2 separate regions of the Homo sapiens genome follow, and region 1 is linked to region 2. The links are contacts of gene promoters, found by promoter capture Hi-C in human tissues and cell types (Jung and others, 2019). All regions are on one chromosome and are shown on one strand. The core of a region is centred on a gene start or on the middle of the fragment in contact, and the rest is flanking DNA. Distances in the headings are between cores, read along the strand shown. Region 1 holds the start of LINC01679 (long intergenic non-protein coding RNA 1679). Region 2 holds the start of HSF2BP (heat shock transcription factor 2 binding protein).

The links. The method cuts DNA at HindIII sites, captures the fragments that hold promoters and counts their contacts. A contact is called where the count stands out against the background at its distance.
Region 1: a fragment that was not itself captured here is called in contact with the fragment with the promoter of HSF2BP in region 2 in 1 of the 25 tissues and cell types used here (IMR-90 fibroblasts).

Annotation. Positions count from the first base shown.
Region 1 is chr21:43,357,308-43,363,264 of GRCh38, forward strand. LINC01679 (long intergenic non-protein coding RNA 1679) reads right to left here and starts at 5,042. Exons shown (of 2, transcript NR_131902.1): 1 at 3,585-5,042; 2 at 748-2,179. RefSeq lists enhancers at 2,404-2,961, 2,962-3,518, 4,302-4,451 and a silencer at 5,132-5,281. The HindIII fragment of the contact is 6,310 bases long and covers 1-5,957 here.
Region 2 is chr21:43,657,215-43,663,003 of GRCh38, forward strand. HSF2BP (heat shock transcription factor 2 binding protein) reads right to left here and starts at 2,274. Exons shown (of 9, transcript NM_007031.2): 1 at 2,172-2,274; 2 at 847-1,106. The coding sequence starts at 882. It overlaps RRP1B (ribosomal RNA processing 1B), which reads left to right and starts at 2,346. Exons shown (of 16, transcript NM_015056.3): 1 at 2,346-2,580. The coding sequence starts at 2,451. RefSeq lists a silencer at 2,379-2,568 and an enhancer at 3,289-3,338. The HindIII fragment of the contact is 9,655 bases long and covers 1-5,789 here.

The DNA of each region.
Region 1 (5,957 bases), core at 1,900-4,399, 300 kb before region 2:
AAACCCCGTCTCAAAATAATAATTTTGAATCTCGCTCATCAGAGCGAGCTTCTGTCTCAAAATAATAATAATAATAATAATAATAATAATAATAATAATAAAATGCACTTACAAGGAAATCAGCAAAGCTAGACCCCCACCTACTCCCGCCCCAACACCTTTAAGAAGAAAGATGCCCTCAAAGAAGGGGGGTGTCCAAAAAGGGCAGGACAAGAGCTCCCCAGGCCACATCGCTTTGGGACGTGGGGCGGGGGCTGCAGGCTCTACACAGCTTCAGGTTTCTCAGGGCTCCACCATACATCGGTTCCAAAGGCCCCTCTGCACAAGGAGACTGTCTCCTGCATGTATGAGTTATCTTCTTGCTTTGCCTAACAGGGTATTATAGCTTCGATGTCTTTCGTCACTGGCACAGAGGTTTTCTAACATCCGTCTTCGTGGCCTCCTGGTCCGGTGGCAAGCATCCCAAGCTCCGCTTCACAGATGAAAAAGCTGAGAGGTTAATTAAACCGTTTGTTGTCCCACGCAGAGTCAGCTTTGGGGCTGGGAGCCACCACAGGACCTGGCTCCCCACGACACCGGCTGAGCCCGGAAGCAGCTGAAGGTTCCAGGACCCTCGGGGCAGCTCCCAGGCCGGCGAGGAAGAAGCCAGGGTGAAATTTGCGGAATGGATTTGTTTCCACTCTTGGAATTCGTGATCACTTTGCTCCTCTGAGTCTCTAGGAATTAGCAATTGTGCCATCGACCAAATTAAGGTGCAAATTATTTGTATTGTTAAACGACTCCAGTTATTACTTGGAGAAAATTTTGCACTTCAATTAACAAAAGCACACATGGGGCAGTTTCTGAGCAAAGCCAGATTTTATAACACTCAGAAGAATGAGGTCCGGCCCCGGGCCTCGCCGCCCTCCTCCTGGCTTTCAGCTCAGCCTGTCCCCTGGCAGTGCCAGCAGCTTATCCGCAGGTCCCCGAGGCCACCCGTTCCCTTCGCACCAGAGCTCTCCCCTCTGTTCTTTGAGAAGCAGGAAGCTAGATGGATCCATCTCAAGGGGGATCCCCCAGAAGCAAAGCCTGAGAGAAGAGCTCTTGTGAAAGTGATTTACTGGGGGAATGGTCTGGGTTTTATGGGGTGAATTGCATCCCTCAAATTCCCATGTTAAAGCCCTAACCCTCAGTGCCCCAGAATGTGGCTGTTTTTGAGACAAGGTCTTTCAGAGGTGATTAAGGTAAATGAGGTCACTAGGGTGGGCCCAGATCCAGTATGACTGGTGTCCTTATAAGAACAGGAGGAGAAGACACACGGGGATGCCAGGGGCCTGCTTGCCCAGAGGGACAGCCCTGAGACAGGGCAGCAAGAGGGTGGAGTCTGCGTGTCCTGGAAGGTGGGTGGGGGAGTGGGGGAGAAAGCAGCCTTGGGGGCCTGGATCCTGGACCTCCAGCCTCCAGATGGTGAGAAATCAGGTCTGCTGTTGAAGGCCTCAGGGTGTGCTATTTCAGTTTAGTGGCTCAAGCCAACTAAGACCAGGGGAAGGGGCTGGCAGCCAGGGAAGACGGCTAAGCCAAGATGTGGGCGGGAGGGGAGCAGCGGCAGGGTCCTGGGGCTAGGAGCCTGAGCTACATGCCAGGTGGGACCACCCGTCCCAAAGACTCACGGCTGTGAGCCCCTAGCAGCTTACGGTTGCAGTGGGTGATGAGTCCTGGGGAGAGGGATGGGAGTGGAGACCCTAACAGCACCTGCCCCTCCGCATTGGACGCTCAGCCAGCAAGATCAATGCAGAACTCACGGAACAGCCAACCACCAATCACCGATCAGCCAACACCCTGGCAGAATTATCTCAGCATCTGGATGTTGGCACCACAGGGACCTCAGGCTGCAGAGAACAGGCTGGCCTATGAACGGAGACGGTGCCTGAGCTCGTGGCTGCAGAGGACAGGCCAGCCTGCGAGTGGAGACGGCACCCGAGCTCGCGGCAATGTTGCGGGGAAGCCAAGACCAACCCCTGCCCGTGCCCGGTTTCCCCGAGGCCCCGTGTCCTCAGAGCGCGTCTCGTGGTTCCGGGCTCACTGGCTTCTAAGTCTTCTCCTTCTGTCCTTCTGTCTCAGTCTCAGCCTTCACTCTTCCTTCTCTCAGGGAGAAAAATAAACCTCTGTGGCTGGCGTTTGCAAAAGGGAGAGACTCTTCCTGAGGAAATAAAATAGATTTCAGTCAATGAATATGCAAACTTGAGGCAGGCCAACACCCAGGAGTCAGGGCTGGGAGACATTGGAGCCCAGCAGCCCCCTGGCCCGACGCCCACACAAAGCCCATTTCAGCCAAAGGTATCAGGTTGTTCACTGTGTAAACACACACCACACACACACACACACACACGATAAGCAACCATTTTGGGGGGCAAGTACTGAAACTCAAAACTTGTTAGCTTTCAAGACCTGAATTCAGCTGCAAGAGGCTTATCCTGGCTTTTACATTGCAGCATGGTTTTTAATTTTATTTTCTACATTTTTTTAAAATCAGGCAGCCTCCAGAATCACAGAAGATTCAGAGAAACTCCCAACAGCATGGTATTTTAAAGCAGGAAACAGGTCTTGGCACTTTTTTGACACCATGGAGTCCTGAGTGGGTGGTGGCCATCACGCTGGGTGCAGACCCGAGAGCAGAACCTGGGGTCTGCAGAGAACCTGAGCCGGCACCCAGAGTGGCGGGGGAGGCCGTGCCAGGAGAGCCAGCCTTCCATAGAGCTTGGAGAGGCTGGTGTCACAGGGGAAATGAAAACAGGACTTCAAAGAGGGAGCGGGCAGAAGCCCCTGCAGGGGATTTTCTGGTTCCTAACCTGGAACAGGCACCGGTTCTGAGGCACACAGCACGCAGCCTCTGCCTTCACCATGTGCTGTCCACACGTCCCGAGCCCCTGGCTGCCCAAAAGAGAGTCACCTGCCCGGCTAAACCCACACCCCAACCCTCCCTGTCACTGGCTGCTGCTGGGGGTCCATTCACCTCAACCCCATGCTTAGCAGTGACCACCCTGGGCTCTTGTAATGGATCCTCATGTCAGCCACTGTGTGAGAACCTTTCCCCGCAGTGTTATCCCAGTCACATGAATCAGGCTCTGAGTGAACGCGTGTATTCCTTGGGTGCCTACTTAGAGCAGAAGGAAAGCAAAGATGCTCACCGGGTAGCCAGGAGCGCCGCTTCCCTGCCCATGCGCCATGGTGTGTGTGTGTGAGCTCAGGGCACGCGGGCACACACGTGTCCGTGGTTCCCACAGGAGGAGCAGGGCCCTCCTGAAACCCAAGAGCCACATCCCCAGGAGCCTCGGGCAGATGAGCGGGAGGTACCTGGGAGCTGGAGACAGGGCCGCCCCTCGCGAGGACGGGCTTTTCCGCCTCACTTCTGCCTTAGCGGCATTGATACCACGCGCATTCACCTCTCCGTGCCTCGGTTTTCTCACCCATAAAGTGGGGGCTCGCTCTGCCTGCCCAGTTGCTGTCAGATTGGGCCAGGCCTGTACAAGCCCACATGGGGACCCCTGGGTGACTGCGCTCTCCCACCTCCCCTCCCACCCTTCCCGCTGCGGGACTCCACACACCAGGCCCACCGTCACCCCCTGCTCTCAGTCTCCAGGCACAGCCAGGTGTGGGCGGTGCATGGCGGGCCCAGCGGTCAACCGCGGCAAAGGTGGTTCCCAGGTCCCTGTGTAGCGGGGGTCCCGTAGCCCCATTGACTGCAGGTCTTGGCTGGGCCAAGGCCATAGAGCAGCATGGCCAGCACTCCTGTTCCATCCTCTGCATCTCTGCTTCAATTGCAAACAACAGCCACAGTTCACATCTGGATCTGTGTGGTGCCCTTCAGTTTAAAACCCCTGCCCAGAGGCCATCTCCTTTGAAACTTCCCAGGCAGGTGTCAAAACGATCCTCCCTCCACATGTCACAGAAATGCAGCAGCAAGAAGCCCGAGGCCTCCAGGAGGAGCTGCGGGCTGGCCCCACCCACAAGCAGCTGCGGGCTCACAGTCACGGTCCTCTGAGGACAGGCTTGTGCTTCCCACTCCCCGGTGAGCGGGCACCACGGATGTCAGTGCCGTGACTGGCCTTTGTGCTTTGGATAAACTCCATGTGGAATGGAAGGAAAGATGGGAGCATTCTAGAACCTGAGCATTTTGTAGCAAGAGCACTGTTCTCACCGCTGATTTCCAATGTCCAGGGCAGAAAGATGAAGAGATATCGTTTTCCCTTAAATGGGAGTGAAGGACAGAGGCAGCGTGGTGGCCGGTGATGGACAGACCCGTGTCTGCTGGCAGGACACCCCGGCCGCCTCCGTCTCATGGATAGAGCAAGCAGTTTTCTCTATGACGTGGCTTCTTTAGGAGGCAGCTCGGCTGCCCAGATCCCTCCTTATTTTTTAGTTCTCAAGCCCTGTAGGGTGTTTTCGGTCGCAGTTGTTTGGGCTGTGGTCCTGACCCTCCTGAGTTCCAGTGGCTCTGTTCAGGAGAGCTGCCTGGGGCCGGGACTTCTGAAACACACACTGAGCCACAGGCCGGCCCGGCGGCTTGGGTTCACCGCCGCCTCTTTGTGTGTGATGTCCTGGGATAGGCCCGTGCACGTTCAGATGACACTGTACATATAAATAACTTGTAGCCGAGAACAGGATGGGGCGGGGAGGAGGGGAGGGCAGAACGTACCACAGCAGCAGAAGTCACTGTGGATGCCTTCGTAAGTTGCATGGAAGGTTTTTAAACCTAGCCCTGCCGAGCAGCCCTCTCCTGGTCCGGGAGAACGATGGGGAGAGAGCTGGCGTTCAGCTTTCATCACTGGAGCCGTTCCTTCTTCCGGCCCCCCGAGGGCCTGTCCATGATCACACTTTGTCTTGTTTCGGGGGTGGCCCCTGTGACCCCTTAGAGGTGCAAATCCAAGGCAGTAGAAGCCGCCTGCCAGGCCAGTGCCCGCCACTGCTTAATTCAGGCGGAATCACGGCTCAGAGGGTTCCCTCCACTTTCCAAGGGAAACATGTCCACGGGGTATCTCTTCCTGCGTATTTTCTCACGACCCTTCCTTACATCCAAGGCCACGTCTCTCGACACGTTGTCCCCCCTCTGCCGTCACACATGGCGTAATCCGCGCCCCCCCTACCCCCCACATCAGCTGCTCAGCGAGCCGCACTCACAGTCACAGGCCCCGCCGGCGGCAACCCCACCTCCTCCCGCCCAGGCAGGAAACGCTCAGCAGCACCATCTGCTTGGCTCCTCAGCCAGCCGCGCTCCGGGAGCCCTGGGGGCGAGGCGGCCGTGGCGTCCTCCACGTCTGTGTCTCCCCGCACGTCAGCCGCCCCACGCTGTCTCTGGAAGCTTCCGGAGTACCCAGGCCTTCTGCACTCCACGCACTGCATGTGCGCCTGAGCCGCTGTCTCGATTTTACAAAACGGAATCTAGCAGTCCATGCACTCAGGGAGGCGGCTGGCAGGATTTTCTGGCAAACTAAGGGTGTTCTTTCCTGGCCAAAGGAAAAGTCTTTTGGAAAATGAATAATCTCTTCCTAATTTGCTTGACTAGGAAGATGGGTTTTTGCACAGTGGGTTTGTTGAAGGGAGGCAGCTCTTGAAATTTTGTTCATAATCCGACATGACAAGGGTGACCGTATAATCTACCGACCCATCTGAGCCCCTTGAGAAGAAAGGAGAAGGTTGTTAATACACGCACTGGGACCACAGGCATCACTGGGCCTGTCCTGGGCAAACTGATTTATGATGGCCGCCGTTGACCTTCGCTGTGGTCAGCCTAAGTGACCTCAGCGTGCACCTGCCATGATTTCCTGGAATCACTCTCTGGGTTCCAGGCTTCTAGGCCTGTGGTTTTGGGGCTGGTTTCTCTGAATTCTCAGATCCTGGTCAGAAGTTTGTGGGCAGATTGGTGTCTGATGAATGAGGGCCGCTCATTCAAGAAACCAGCGTAGCAAATGGGAGGTGGT
Region 2 (5,789 bases), core at 1,024-3,523:
CAAAAATTAGCCAGGTGTGGTGGCCGGCGCCTGTACGCAGCAGGCTGACACGGGAAGAAGGCTTGAGCTCAGGAGTTGGAGGCTGCAGTGAGCTATGATCGTGCCACTGCACTCCAGTCTGGGCAACAGAGCAAGACCACGAAAAAGAAAAGTCATACAAGAGCTCTATTCCTAAAAGTCAAAGAAAACGCCTGCAACTTTTTATCACTGCAGCACCAAACTAATCAGGAGGAAAAGGAAGTCATCTGGTTTCCTACTGGGTTTGCCAAGCCCTCCGCCCGTGATCTCATCTACTATTCACCCCAAGCCTCCAAGATTGTCTAGATGGAAATTAAGGCACGGGAGCTAGATGACTCTCAATGCAGCACAATTAATAACGGGTGGAAGCAGGATGTGAACACGGATCTGGCCCCAGTCCAAGCGCCTTCTCCATCGCATGCAATCAGTTACAGTTATAAAATCGATGGAGGGCAGATTCTCTCTAAGCCTGACGCTAAGTCCCGAAGCAGGGGGCCAGGGCCTTCGGAGGGGAACTGGGCTTCCACGGAGCAGAGAAGAGAGTGACCATCCATCCCACGCTCCCATGCCCGCTTTGGCGCCACTGAGTGCCCCCACCACGCGCAGCCTCACAGACCGGGTCCCCGCGTGGGTTTGGAGGCGAAGTCGCCTCCCGCCCCAGGTCTCCACCCCGCTCCGGCCCAGCCCACGCCGTTAGGGGAGGAAGTCTCCAGGCTTCCCCCAAGCACGCGACAGCGAGCCGTCTCCGAGCGCACGGGGCGAGGCCCTGAGGGGAGCGAATGGCGACGGTTCAAACACGCTGGCGTCGGCCAGGGCTTCCTCACTAACCCGGCAGGCCTCCTCAGCGGCGCCCGCTTCGCCCATGGCCGCTGCCGCCTCCGCTCCGTTCGCCTGAGCGTCGGCGCGCCCTCTGACCCCTCACGCCAGAAAGCGCGGGAACGAATCCACGCCGGGGGTCGGGAACGGAGAGCCGCCAGGCCCAAACCTCCCAGAATTTGCGCAGTATTCTCGGCCTAGAGAGCGAGGAGTGGCCTTGGCGAGGTCCCTCTTTGGCTCTTCTGGCTTAGCCGGGGTTTTAAACTTGTTATCTGCAAAGCAGAAGGAAAGTCAGCCCCTGATGTAAGTGTCAAGTAAAATAAATCGGATGGGTCCTTTCCTGTTTGGCGAGGAATGCTACACTAAGGGGGACTGCGTTCAAATGGGCAGTCTTTGCTGGAAACCTCGCCTCCGCGCGCCTTCCCTCGCTCGGATTCAGGCGCTTTTACGTTAAGGGTTGAATTTTTGTGTCAACAGGCACCTCGGGAGGTCGCCTAGACAACTGAGCGGAGCAACTGAGATAACCCCCGCTACGTGTGGAGTGACCTAGTCCATTAACTTGCCCCAGCACGCCCGCTGAGTCCGCAAAATATAGGATGGCCTCGGGTTTTAGATGAACCCAAAGCTAAGATTTCTTCCCTCTCTGGAATTAGCAAGCAGCCCGCCCTGCCCAACTCCCCTGGAAGCGCGCGTGCTCGCCAGGCCTCGGGACGCCTGCGCGGGCGCCCTTGCACTGGCACCAGGGCTCCGGGGTAGGGGCGCACCGATCTGCCCAAGCCTCTGCAGGCACTGGAGGAAGGCGAGCCCTCCACCCGCTCAACAGGCCCCAGTGCCGGCCTTTCCTTCCAGTCTCAACTCCACCCGGGGGCCCGGGGGCTCCACAGTTAAAAACTCCACGCCACGGAGATCGCAGGTAAGCTGCTGGCTCAACGAGGTGTGCTAAATGGGATTAAAGATCCTGGACCGTGGCCAGGCGCGGCGGCTCAAGCCTGTAATCCCAGCGATCAGGGAGGCCGCCGCGGGAGGATTGCTTGAGCCCAGGAGTTTGAGACCAGCTTGGGCAACATAGCGAGACACCGTCTCTACAAAAAAATAACAAATAGTGGGGCGTGATGGCGCGCGCCTGTAGTCTCAGCTACTTGGGCGGTCGAGATGGGAGGATCGATCGAGTCTGGGAGGTCGAGGCTGCAGTGAGCCAGGATCACCGCCAAGATCGCGCCACTGCATTCCAGCCTGGGCGACAGAGGGAGACCCTGTCTCAAAAACAAACAAAAAATCCTAGACCGTTTACAAACAGCCTTCCGTCTCTTCCTGGTCAAGTCCTAACCCTGGCTAACCTCGCCGTCTACAGCCTGAATTTTGGCAACCGAAAGGCAGCGCCGGCGCCACGTGCACACGGGCTGGGCCGCTCCGCCAGCTGCCAGGGCCACTGCCGCGCTCACTCCCAGAGCGCGCTGCGAGCCGCGGCGCCTTTGTGACGCCATCAGCCCGCGCGCCGCCGCCGCCGCCTTCTGTGCAGTCGCGGCCCGGGCGGACGGTGGCTGGCTGCTCCGCAGCGCTCGGCTGGCTGCAGCGGCACCGCGGGTTGCGCGGCCGGGGATGCTCCAGCGGGCGCGATGGCCCCCGCCATGCAGCCGGCCGAGATCCAATTTGCCCAGCGGCTGGCGTCCAGCGAGAAGGGCATCCGGGACCGAGCGGTGAAGAAGCTGCGCCAGTACATCAGCGTGAAGACGCAGAGGGAGACAGGTGGGCGCACGGCCGCGGTCAGCCGCGCCACATGGCGGGCCGGGGGCCGGGGCTGGGGCTAGGGCCAGGGCCCCGGCACGGAATGCGGCTTCCACGTGTTGTCGTGACACCCAGCGTGTGCTTCGGTTTCCGCGCTGCCGGAACCGCTTCTTGCTGTGTCTAGTGCCTTTTTACACTTAAGGAAACGGGTTGAGGGGGTTCCGTTACTTATGAAAGTCACAGTAAGCGGGGAAGCTGAGAAAAGACCCACATGGGTCCGATTCCCCAGCCGGCATCTCGAATCACTGGGCTGCCCTGATTTGCCCTGGTGTCCGGTCGGTGATTGCCGCCTTCCTTTGACCAGCACCTTTACGTGACGGGGCTGCAGGAGAGAAGACAGACAAAATCACTACCCTCGAGGATCTATTAGTAATAAAGCAAGGAGGCAAACAGGCAAATAAAGTAGACCTTGTGTAAGTGTAGTAAAGGAAATGAAAACCAGGTAGCAGGCCGGGCGCGGTGTCTCACGCATGTAATCCCAGCACTCTGGGAAGCCGAGGCGGGCGGATCACCTGAGGTCGGGAGTTCGAGACCAGCCGGACCAACATGGTGAAACCCCGGCTCTACTAAAAATACAGAATTAGCCGGGCATGGTGGCGCATGCCTGTAATCTCAGTACTCGGGAGGCTGAGGCAGGAGAATCGCTTGAACCTGGGAGGCGGAGGTTGCGGTGAGCCGAGATCGCAGCATTGCACTCCGGCCTGGGCAACAAGAGCGAAACTCCGTCTCAAAAAGAAAAGAAAAGAAAAAAGGAAAAAGAAAACCAGATAATAGCAAAAAGGGAAGGAGGTTGCTCTTCTTGATAGGCTGTTCTGGGAAGGCCTCTCTGGGCTGATAATCAGCTCAGATCTGAAGAGAAATGAGCGGAAACCGCCTATGCAGAGGCAGGAAAGAGCTTCACGTGCCCTAGGAGTGGTTTGAAAGACCAATAAGTTGGGGTTGGGGGGGCGAGTGTTATGAGATGAAGTTGGAGATGTAGGCAGTGGCCAGATCACACAGGGCTTTGTAGTTTAGATTTTAACGGCACTGCTGTTGGATGATTTCATTTACCTGATCCAAAAATACTTTCTATAAACTCTTGAGTGAGCCCATACAATATGAACTACAATGTGTAATAGAGGTTTTAAGATAAAGTTTTATTTAGTTACTGATGGTACTAATACATTTAGAATCTGCTTAAAAGAACAGATATTATCTCCCCCATCACTGACATTCTCAGTTTGTTTTATTTTTAAGAGAAATCACCAGACTACCCAAAAAAAGAAAATACACTTTCCTGGGAAGTCTGATAGAAAAAGGAATAAAGACCAAAATTCCTGACTTTGATTCTGTTAAGAATCTCCCCAAGAGATTTTGTTTAGTCTCACAGTTCCAGGTACCCCATATATGCTGGTGGTTTCTAAACCTAAATTGTTGTCCCAGCCCATTCCTACTTGCAGCTCGGATGTGCCTTGCTAGCCTGGCTTCTCTACCTGGCACCTCACACTCAGGATGCCAAAAAAAGTTCTGTTTTCTTTCCCCGAAATCCTGTTCTCTGCTGCTGCTCCACTGCCACCTGTTTTCTTTTCTTTTGGTTGCTGGTTCCCACCAGCCATTCAGATTCCAGCCGGACACACGGGATTGTCCTGGACTCCTCTGAATTCCTCATCCTCTTCCCCTGGCCCACATCCAGTGGGAGGACCCCCGTCCTCCCTCGTTCACCTCCTGATGACATAAATTCTTGACCGTGGGCTCTTTGTATCTCACCGAAACTTCTGCGCCCGCATATTCCCCAACTGGTCTCCTTAACTTCACTTGTGTCCCCAGGAATCTGTCCTCCACAGACCAGCCCAGGGTCATCTTCCTAAAACAAATCTGATCCCACATCACCAATATTTTTTGAAATTCAGTGTCTGCAAGTCATGATCTGTCCTCAGGTGCTCTTCCTGCCTAAGCCCCGTGTAACTGCTTCATGTTCCGTCAACAGAATCGGTGATGGTTCTTGGTGTACAGCACACAATTTCTCACCTCTCTGCCTTTGCTTCTCCTGTTCACTCTGCAAAGAATCCCACACCTTCTTCACTGCCAGCATTCAGTTCAGTATCACTTCCTTCAAAAAGCCTCGCCTAGCATCTTGCCCTACTCCTCCAGGGTTCTAAAACATCCATTGTGTCTCTGTTGTAGCACTTAGCTACATTGCTTCTTAATTATCAATGTGTCATCCTTCTCCCGAAACACCGTAAGCTTCCATCTGTTTTCTTAGCCAGAAGTGGGAGTACATGCAACCGTAAAAGGTCTTGGCCTGTACAAGAGTGGAAGACCAGAGGCAATACTTACGGTGCTAAGACAGCCTAGACAGAGCCTTTTGCTCAAACCCTTTGGTGAGCCAGCCCAGGATTTGCAAATGCAGAGGTTATGCGGGGGCCTAAGACCAGTTTACACCAGTGCTCCAGAGTCCTGTCTGGTTAGTGCCTATCACACCCAGAGTGACTTGTCTTGTATATCTTGTTCACCACCACATTGCATGGAGTACAGTGGACCTTCAGAAAATAACTCCGCAGCATGAACGTCGTGGACAGTGATAATGGGACAAGAAAACACAAGGTCTCCACCACAGCTATGCCCCATCACAATTACAGCACAAGTTTGGAAATAACTTGGCCTGACATTCGACTCCCGATGACAGGCTCCAACTTTTCTGCATCTTGTCTTAGGCATCATAAAGGAAATGTGAGCTATCACTCTTCCTGAAACATGAGCTGTTCTGCAGCAACATCAATAGATAGCTTTGTCATTTTAAAAATAAATTGGAAATCTTTGTATTGCTTTAAGTAACAGTGTTGCGCTCTTGCTTTAACTGTTCAAGTTGGGTGCTCACAGTCATAAAATGATCACTCTCCATGGCTTTCATCCATAAGAGCTTATTTGTCCCAATTCATTCATTCATTCATATATTTAGCAAACATTTATGGAGTGCCAACTGTGTACTATTATGTACGCTATTCTTGGCACTGGGAATATAGCAGTGAACAAAACAGACCATCCCTGCCTATCTTATCAGTTCTGCAACTTTAAAAATATTGACTAAAATGGGGAGGCATCCCAAAATCAACCCAGTGACAATTTCATTTGTATCATTGCTTTCTTTTTGGCAGCATACAAAATAACAGTACATCTTATGGTTGATGCTA